2 separate regions of the Homo sapiens genome follow, and region 1 is linked to region 2. Evidence: promoter capture Hi-C in human tissues and cell types (Jung and others, 2019). All regions are on one chromosome and are shown on one strand. Each heading gives the region's core, a stretch centred on a gene start or on the middle of the fragment in contact. The rest is flanking DNA. Distances are from core to core; before and after follow the strand shown. Region 1 holds the start of ARL2BP (ARF like GTPase 2 binding protein). Region 2 holds the start of CCDC102A (coiled-coil domain containing 102A).

The links. Contacts are between HindIII fragments. The study calls those that stand out against the background at their distance.
Region 1: a contact is called between the fragment with the promoter of ARL2BP here and the fragment with the promoter of CCDC102A in region 2, in 1 of the 25 tissues and cell types used here (lymphoblastoid cells).

What each region holds. Positions count from the first base shown.
Region 1 is chr16:57,241,721-57,246,691 of GRCh38, reverse strand. ARL2BP (ARF like GTPase 2 binding protein) reads right to left here and starts at 1,433. Exons shown (of 6, transcript NM_012106.4): 1 at 1,287-1,433; 2 at 551-612. The coding sequence starts at 1,324. LOC124903697 (a long non-coding RNA gene) reads left to right here. Exons shown (of 2, transcript XR_007065082.1): 2 at 1-877. RefSeq lists silencers at 1,035-1,244, 1,335-1,714. The HindIII fragment of the contact is 10,161 bases long and covers 179-4,971 here.
Region 2 is chr16:57,534,117-57,538,765 of GRCh38, reverse strand. CCDC102A (coiled-coil domain containing 102A) reads left to right here and starts at 2,195. Exons shown (of 9, transcript NM_033212.4): 1 at 2,195-2,266. It also overlaps a transcript of ADGRG5 not described here. RefSeq lists a silencer at 1,953-2,902. The HindIII fragment of the contact is 34,087 bases long and covers 1-4,649 here.

The sequences.
Region 1 (4,971 bases), core at 184-2,683, 290 kb after region 2:
GCTGGGACTACAGGCGCCCGCTACCACGCCCGGCTAATTTTTTTTGTATTTTTAGTAGAGACAGGGTTTCACCGTGTTAGCCAGGATGGTCTTGATCTCCTGACCTCGTGATCCGCCCACCTCGGCCTCCCAAAGTGCTGGGATTACAGGCGTTAGCCACCGCACCTGGCCTGGTTTTATGTGTTTTATGGCATGAAAATGTTAAAACTCAAAACTATCTAAAATTGAAATTGCTCTTACCCTACATAAGAAATAGAGTAGATCATTATTTCCTATAGTTTTGCGAAGAACGCCACACTGCTGGTGCCCTATTAGCCTGAGTCAGTCCCTTCCAGCCTCTGAATCTATGCTTATTAGATGTTTTCAGGAGTACTGGGCTGTTTGTTTCTAAGACAAACTGCAGTAAGCCTTTACTTAAGTATTACATTGTGCTACATTAAAAATTGCAGGCAGCTTGATGTTTTCTCTTTTTAAAATTAACTCTCCAAATTGATTTCAATGTCCTTAAAGAAACAAGCAAGTCCTTAAAAACAGTATCTTAAAAGCTTACCCATGATAATGTCCTCTAAATATCCAACCACAGCATCAAATTCTGCATCAGAGGCGGAGGAGCTGAAAAACATGCCTGGATTAGGTGCTATTTCAAATAATGCATTAAAAAAATGTTTTTAGTATGGACGTTTTCAAACATGCACAAGAGAAAAAAGAGTAGCAAAACGAACTTCCCATCACCCATCTTCAACGATTAAGAATGACTGACTGATCTAGTAAGTCCAAACAGAAGAAAACACACTCGGCACGTTTGTGACATGAACGTTCAATGTCATGACTCCACTTTAATAAAAACTTGTTCTCCAGGCTCTTAGCTATCACCCCATACCTGTCTGCTTGTGAGCATGAACCCGGCACGGGCGAAACACCTGCCGGGGGGGGTCATTTGGTCAGGAGTCCGGGAGGCGGGGGCCAGGGAGGGGTGGAGGGGCCTCGGGCGCTCAACCCCTCCAGGCTTTGCTGACAGCTGAGGGTTGGCGGCTGGGGATTGTGATGGAGGCGCTGATCAACGGTGACACCCGCCTCGCACTCCTGTCCTGCGGGGCCTGAAACCTGCAGCCTTAGTACTCTACAAAAGGAAGGCCTGGAGCTGGGACGGCGCCTTGGCGGCCCCCACCCTGCCCGGCCCGGCCCGGCCCGGCCCCTAAGGACACCTGTTTTATAGGGTCAGGCCCCGGGGCGAACGCCCGCTGCCTCCGGCCCCAAGTCGCCTGCGCCCTGGAGGAGCTACTCACAAAGACAGCGCAAAGCTCTCTCCTTCTAAGGCGTCCATCGCAGTCGCCCCGAGTAGGCTCCAACCCCGCCCGCGGCCCAACTCGCATGCAGGGCGCGGCCGCCCGGCGGGGTTAAGGCCTCTCAGCCAAGGCCGCGGCCAGCTCACTGCCAGGTCGGGTCAGCGCCTGCGCGCCAGGTCCGGCCTTGGATACCCTCTGCCGCCACGCGTCGGTCCGGCCTCTACGCCCGCCTGGCCCTCTGCGCGCGCCGCCGACGCCGCAGGTCCGGGCCTCGGTGACTGCCGGAGGGGCGCGGCGCCCCGCCTCCTGTCACCATGGCCACCGCAACCCCTTCCACCGCCTCACGGCCGGCCGGCATCCAATCACAGGCGAGCGTTACCGATGCCGGGGCGGGGCAAGACAGGGAGAGGAAGTCCCGGAAGGGAGTGCGGAGGGATGCGGCGCTTCGGCGAGCACCCGTTGTGTGGGAACTCCGTCTCAAGTCGCCCCCATTGTACGGATGAAGGAATCGAAGCCACGAGCCAGAATTTCCTCACTCGCAACTCGAGAATAAATTGCGCCTCCCTGAGTGTGGAGGATTAAATAAGTAGTTTAAGGCGTGTTTAAAGAGCGCTTGTAAGTTGCCAAGTCGCTGGAGAGCCAGTCCCTTATCCCTTGAACCAGGTGATGCTGACGTCTGATTTCAAGACAGTTCCTACCCCTCGTGGAAGGAAAGCCCCATCGCAAGAAGTCGATGTCCTGTAATTTACGTTATAATCTTCGCATCATAAAGATTACTCGGCAGTAATTGGTTTCTTGACTAATTATACAAGATGAGAATTGAAGAACTATTTTGAGCCACGCAATCAGGAATCAGATACCTTTCAGGAAAAGGCCTCTTCAAAACTGCCAAACTTTGAAAAAGGATTCGTTTGAGCTGATTTCTCTTGATTGGACAACTAAGCATTGTGTCTCTTTAGTTGCATGATACCTTATGGCCAAAGTGTGGTATATGACTAGAGGAACTAGAGGGGTTTAAGGTATGAACTGAGGGTCAGGTGGCCAGTCAGAATGGGTTAGCAGACATTTTTTATTTTTTTGAGACGGAGTCTTGCTCTGTCGCCCAGGCTGGAGGGCAGTGGCACGATCTCGGCTGGCTACAACTTCCGCCTCCCAGGTTCAAGCGATTCTCGTGCCTCAGCCTCCCGAGTAGCTAGGATTACAAGTACGTGCCACTATGCCCGGCTATTTTTGAATTTTTAGTAGAGACAGGGTTTCACCATGTTGGCCAGGCTGGTCTCGAACTCCTGACCTCAGATGATCCACCTACCTTGGCCTCCAAAAGGGCTAGGATTACAGGTGTGAGCCACCACAACCGGCCTAGCAGACATCTTTGAATGGACTTAAAATAGATATCCGTGGGATCTGAAACAAAGATGGTTACAAAGACACAGTCGGGTGTGACAGCTGTGACCAAGGTGACATAAATTATTACTAATTTATTTATTTATTGAGATGGAGTTTCGCTCTTACTGCCCGGGCTAGAGTGCAATGGTGCAATCTCGGCTCAACACAACCTCCGCCTACCGGTTTCAAGCGATTCTCCTGCCTCAGCCTCCCGCGTAGCTAGGATTACAGTCATGCGCCACCATGCCTAATTTTTTTGTGTTTTTAGTAGAGATGGGGTTTCTCTATGTTGGTCAGGCTGGTCTTGAACTCCCGACCTCAGGTGATCCGCCCGCCTTGGCCTCCCAAAGTGCTGGGATTACAGGCGTGAGCCACTGCGCTCGGCCTATTTATTTTTTGAGAGGGAGTCTTGCTCTGTTGCCCAGGCTGGAGTGCAGTGGCGCAATCTCGGCTCACTGCAATCTCTGCCTCCCGGGTTTAAGGGATTCTCCTGCCTCAGCCTCCTAAGTAGCTGGGATTACAGGCGCGTGCCACCACACCCGGCTAATTTTTGTATTTTTAGTAGAGACAGGGCTTCACCATGTTGGCCAGCGTGGTCTCGAACTCCTGACCTCTGGTGGTCTGCCCGCCTCGGCCTCCCAAAGTGTTGGGATTACAGGCGTGAGCCACCGCACCCGGTCAGGTGACATCAATTATGAGTTACTCTGTTTAGCACCAAGTGGAAGATAGGCATTTAAAAAGATTTGCTGAATTACTGGACTGAGTTGTTTAGTCAAGCCCTGGTCACACAGCTTACAGCAAACTCAGAGAGTTTCTTCATGACCTACTTTCTCTATATACCACACATTTCTGGACAAAATGAATTTGCCTACCCTTCCTAAGTCATTGATGGAGTGGAGGAGGAACACACCTTGATTTAATCTGTTCTGGTTATCTATTGCTGTTACAAACCACCTGAAAATTTAGTGGCTTAAAACCACCATTTTGCTCACTAATCTGTAATTTGGGCAGGGCCAGCTAGTCTCTATTCCAGTTGGTGTCGGCTGGGGGCAGCTGGAATGGACTAGAGGAGCTTCCTCCAAGGAGTTTACTCACATGGCTGGCAAATTAGTGTTGGCTCTTGGCTCTCAGTTGTGGACATTGGCCAGAGAACTGGGGCCGGGGTTTGGGGGGTTTCAGTTCCTCTCCATCTATAGGATTCAGGGGATTCTTGGGTTTTCTCACACCATGGTGCTGGGTCCAAGAGCAAGTGTTTCAAGACACTGAAATGTAAGCTGGCAGTCACTTAAAGACCTGGTACTGGAAACTGGCACAATAGCCCTTCCACTGTGTTCCACTGATCAAGCAGACCCAGAGCCACCCAAATTTAAGGAAAGTAGACATAAACCTCATTTCTTGACGGGAGGGATGTCAAATAATTTGTGGCCATCTTTTAATCCATTTCACCAACCTTACTGACTCTAGGAACAAATGGGGATAAAGATAAAAAGTACCCACTCAAGGATGTATCAGATAGTGTGCTAAACATTTATAAATACATTGTCTCCTTTTGAAATATTTGAGACCTTACAAAAACAAAAAACCGGTATGAGGTGGGTAGTATCTCCATTTTACAGACTGGGAAACCAAGCATTAGTGGGACCTGGGTCCAGTCCCACTCCAAAGGGCCTATTTCAACCATCATGCTATATAGCCCCTAATCCCTGGGTTGTTAAACCATATTCTTGGAAATCAGAACGTTTTCTCCTGAATACAGAATGGCCTTTTTCCACTTGTAGCAAAACTAAAAATTGACTTGAATACACTAAATGTTTTTCCATTAATACTCATTTTTAAAATCCTTTGATTGGGGGTTGGCACTAGGAATTCTTCTGAGTGAATAAATAGCAAAAGGTAAATGATGGGCAATATTGGAAAGAGCTGATCTTAGGTGGATGGTTTGTTTTCATGGATACACATTCAAGATGGTTGAAACTTGTGCAAAAGTCATTTTCTGCCAGTGAAATTGTGTCAGTTTTGTGACTGAATCAGTTTCCTGGCACTCTGCAAATGGCACCATGACTTTCTTCTGCTCTATGTTATTTTAAAAAGGGGCAAATTCATTAAAAAACTTTTTTGGCTGAAATGCTGGATTTCCCCAGTGAATCACCTGACAAAATACCATAATTTTTTGTTTTTCTCCCTGGTAACAATTTATCAGTAGTAAAAGTCTAGCTTTTAATTTCTCTTAAATGCTTACATTCAGTTCAGAATATGGATGTACGACTTTACGCTTCCACATAGCTTGCTAACCCCTAGT
Region 2 (4,649 bases), core at 946-3,445:
CAGAACTGCTGAAGTGTGGGAAATATTGACACACGCCTCAAAAACCTGACTGTCCTGAACTGAGTGGGACAGGCTGCCAGAGAGAAACCCTGCCGAGACCACTGGGGAGGTTGACGCCAGATTAGCCTTGCATTCAGAGAGGCGCCTGGGGGTGTTGTTCTAGAAAGAGAACTATGGTAAAATTGAAACAGTCAGATCTGGGATCTGACATCTCATAGGGTGACCCCGGGCCAGTTACTCGAGACGATCCTCTGGCCTCTGCCTCCCAAGTTAGCTGGGGCTACAGGAGCGTACCATCACACCTGTCTAAACTTTTTATCTTTTTGTAGAGACAGAGTGTCCCTATGTTCCCACGCTGGTCTTGAACTCCCGGCCTCAGGCGATCCTCCCGCTTTGGCTTCCCAAAGCACTGGGATTACAAGTGTGAGCCGCCGTGCCCAGTCCAGTCATTTCTGATCTTCACTTTTCTCATTATGAGAGGGTGGTAATAACACCCAGCCCCTAGGTAACTAAGATAACATCATGCGAGCTGCCAAAACCTGTGGCCAGCACCTACTTTGGTTCTACGATCGGGTGGGTCACGTCACCCCACCCTAGCCCCTGCAAAAGACATCCTCAGGACAATATTTACTGCTTCTTCCTAAGGAGAGAAGGCCTGATAGTGATGAGGTTATAGCTGGAGTTCAGGTGCACCATCAACTCAGTCTCCACCACCTTCCCCAGCCCCATTTCCACCTCCAAAAACTCTGGGCAAGACCTCTGGGCTCTTGATCCAAGGCTGTTACTGGCTGTAGGACCTTGTGCAAGTCTGAGCCAAGAGCCTCTCTGAGCCTTCATTTCCTCAGCTGTAAAATGTGGATGCCCTTGTCCTCTGAGTACTCAAACCCCACATACATCTCCTATCTATCTCTGGCTGGTGAACAGACGCTTTCAACATTCAGCCACGCATAACAAATACAAAGCAAATGAATCGACAAGTGAAACTGCCAGTCTTGCAACGTATGGGATTTCATGAAGTTGGTGGAAGCAAAGCAGGAGAAATGGAACAGCCGCTGCCCACAGAGAAAGGGAACGTCTGCAAGGGAAGTGACCCAGACCCGAAAAAAGGCACTGGACTATCAAAGGATTCAGAGTGATCCTTGAGTTTGAGGAAGCTCTCAAATATTTTTGCAAAAATGAATCTCTTACTGCAAAAACCAGTTCAGAAGGGAAGGATGCTACATACTCAACTATTACAAGAAAAAGCAAGACTTCCAGTGTTAACATCTGATTCATTCTTGGTTCATTTTAAGGCGTGCGTGGTTGCAATCATAATCTAAACTCCGTTAATCACGGGGTAAAACTAATTTATCTTCGTAATATTTAGCTTCTTTTTCTAGGTAAAATCCCAATCAGGCCAGGTTTTCCCCACCATCTTGGTGAATTGTTGGTCTTCTTTTAAATAGATTCACCTCGGGGGCCTTCCAGGGTACAGGATGTAGTGGGGAGTCCTCCAGACGCCTGTCCCGGCTTTCCAGTCAAGACCACAAACATCCTACCCCCAATAGAGAGAAAGCCCCAAAACAGCTGGGCGTCCCCGAAGGCGAAGTACCGTAATTCCCCAGGGCCTGCCAACCACCATCGCAATGCAGAGAAAAGTCTCCGCCCGCCGGGCCGAGTGCTCCCCGCGCCCCCCACCTCTTAACAAGCGCAAGGTTGCTTTCGTCAACCCTTCTGTTGTACAGAAAGAGAAACTGAGGCCCGATGGGCACAGACTTGTTGGCCCACTTCCACTCGGTGGCAGAGCTGGCCCAGGGAAAAATGCAGGTAACAACAGTGAAGACTTGGTAAGCTCGCTCCACGTGCCGAGCTGGGACCCGCGGTGGCCGTTTCTGCTGGGGGCGCCTAGTACGTAGTTGGCGCTGAGGAAACCTGAACCAAGAAAGCCGAGCCCCCCCGCAACTCTCGGCCCCTCACGGGGGTGGGGCCTCCGTTGGGGTACGGCCCGCTCTGCAGCAGAGCCCACCGCCCCGGCCCGCACCCCTCGCCCCGAAGTTAGGCTGGAGCCCCCACCCCAGCAGCTCGGTGGGCCGGGGTCACAGCGGGGCCGCAGCCTGCGACCGCTTCGGGGGCCCCGCCGCTCCCCCTGCTTCCCCTCCCCCCGGGAGGGAGGAGGAGACTCCGCGGCCCTCCCTCGGCCCCTCCGGCGGCGGTCGCAGCTGCACGGTGCCCGCTCTACCCCGCCGCAGCGGCTGGGACGTACGGAGCCCGCAAGTCCCGGCCCGAGGTGAGCGGGGGCGGCAGGCCGGGGGGCGGCAGGCCAAGGCGGCCCGGGAACTTGCTCCAGGCCGCGCGCCTTCCGCGGGAAGGAAGGGGTTAAGTTGTGGGGCGTGCTGGAGGAGCAGACACAGTCGGGGCGCCCGCGGCAACCCCCGAACTCAGAGCAGAACTTTCTAGACGCCTCCCCGGCCTCCCTCAGCCCCCGGAACCCCAGGTCTCCGGTGGGGAGGGGCCGCGGGGTGATGGGGGAGGGGAGGCGCCTCCGGAATGCCGCGGCCCGGGCCGGACGGGAGGGGGCGGCGGGCGGGGACGGAATTTGGGACTCTCCCGGGGGACCCAACGTGGTCGCCATGGCGAATGCGGGATGGACGGGCGGCGCTGGCCAATCAGAGCACGGCGCCCTGCCCAGAGCCGCGGCGACTGCCAATGGGGGCCATGCGGTGGGGTGGGCGGGACCGCGCGGCGCGGGCCGGGAACCCCCTCCACCCTCCGCCCGTCGCTAGGTGGAGCGGGGCGGTTCGCAGGGCCAGCGGCTTGGGAGGGGTCGACTAAGTGAGGACTAAGGCGACGCAGGGCTGGGGCTTCAGTTTCAGTACCTTAGGTGGGGGTGGTGTCCACCTTCCCACCCCCGCTCTCCCAGGGCTCTTGTGGGGGTTGGATTGGTTTGGGTTCGGGAGGTCTGCCCACCTGTTAGAGCGTTCAGGAATCTTTTTAGTGCCTCTCCCCATCCTGTAGGTAAGGAAACTGAGGCCCAGAGAGGGCAGGGACTTGCAGATATCACACAGCATATCAGTGATGGAGCTGGGACTAGCGGGATGTCTGCTGTACAAGAGTGAAGAGTTCACGGTGTTGCCGAGAGGGGTGGGGCTGGGGTCGGGGTGGGGCTGGGTCCCCATGAAGGTTCACCCCACCATTCCAGCTGTGCGTATCCACTTGGCCTGGTGCCTGCAGACCCCATCGTGTAGGTGCTCTCGGGGGCATTGTGCCCCTCAGGTGGCTAAGATCCAGAAGAGGAGGCATCCCATCACCAGCTCCCTACTCTGGCCTTGCTGCTGGTCCGCGGTGTGGACACAGACACGTAGCTGTCCCTCTGGGCCTCAGTTGGTCCATATGTAAAGAAAGGAGTTCAAATCAATGATCCAGGCTGTCTCTGTGGCTCCTCAGTCTAAGATGGGGCTACCTGGGAATAGGCCAGGGGTGCCTACCCCTGGGCTTAGGTCCAGCCTGGAGGCCTAGCCGCCATCCCTTCCTTTCCCGCCAGCCAGCTCCCCCCAGAGGTCCTGCAGCTGGATCCTGGGCAGCAGGTCACAGGGACAGGTGCCCGCAGTCTGTGGGCTGACCAGCCTTGGGCCCTGCACTTATTCAATCAGGCTGTCCTCTGTGGTTTCCCACTGGGCTCTGCTTTCTGTCCACAGCCAGGCCTGTGGCCATGGGCTTGTCCCAGGGCCCTACCTGAAAGGCTCTGGGAGGATCTACAGGGTTTCAGAGCCGGGGAAGGGGTTGGGGCACTGGGCTCCCCATCCCTTCAGCTGGCCCCTGTCCAGGCCTTGGCATTGCTCATTCCTCTCACTGATATGGAGAGACCCATCCAAACATGCTGAGGACAAAACACAACGCTGTTCCCAGTGGGTCAATTAGGCTTCCCCAGGTAAAAGGTGGGACAGCCGACTTGGCCGTGAGATGACCTCTTATTCCAACCCTGGCCAGACAGGCTCAGATACCTACCTGTCTCAGAGCCTGGCCACCGACTGACTCCTGATCTTTAGGATGACTCAACCTTCCCAAACTCTGCATGGTCACAAGGGTACCCCTAAGAGTGGTACCACCTTCTTAGGGGTACCTTCCATCCATCACGCATCTGCTGTATGCTGGGCCCTGTGCTGATGCCCTCGCTCGTGGACTTCAAAGTAAGGCCTTTGCTGTAGAACACGGAGGTGCCTGGTGCTTTGGGAGCATACTCTGTGCAGAGAGGTTAGAGAAGGCTTCCTAGGGGAGGGGACACTGGAGGTGGGTTTTGAAGGATGTGTAGGAGTTTGCTGATGAAGGAAGGAGAGATATTCCAGACAAGTCCACAAGCAACAGGAACCACTGGGTCACTTTCTGTGGGCAGGGCTGATGAGGGCCTAGCCTGCAGCAAGTGTCAGCTCAAAATATTCTTGTTTCTGTCCTGGAGTGAGCTACCAGTGAGCACAGCTGTGGGGCTGGGGTTCAGGAGCCCTGATGGAAGCTCTAAGTGGCACAAGTGTCCCATCTGGATGAGGGAAGCCTGTACTGCCAGAAGAGAGATGGCAGCTTGCCAGGCTTGGCTGTGGGAGGTTGTAGGGCTGTGGTCCCCAGGTGGGGGTGGGGTTGGGGAGATCAAGGCATTTCCTGGAGTTGGTGGCAGCTGA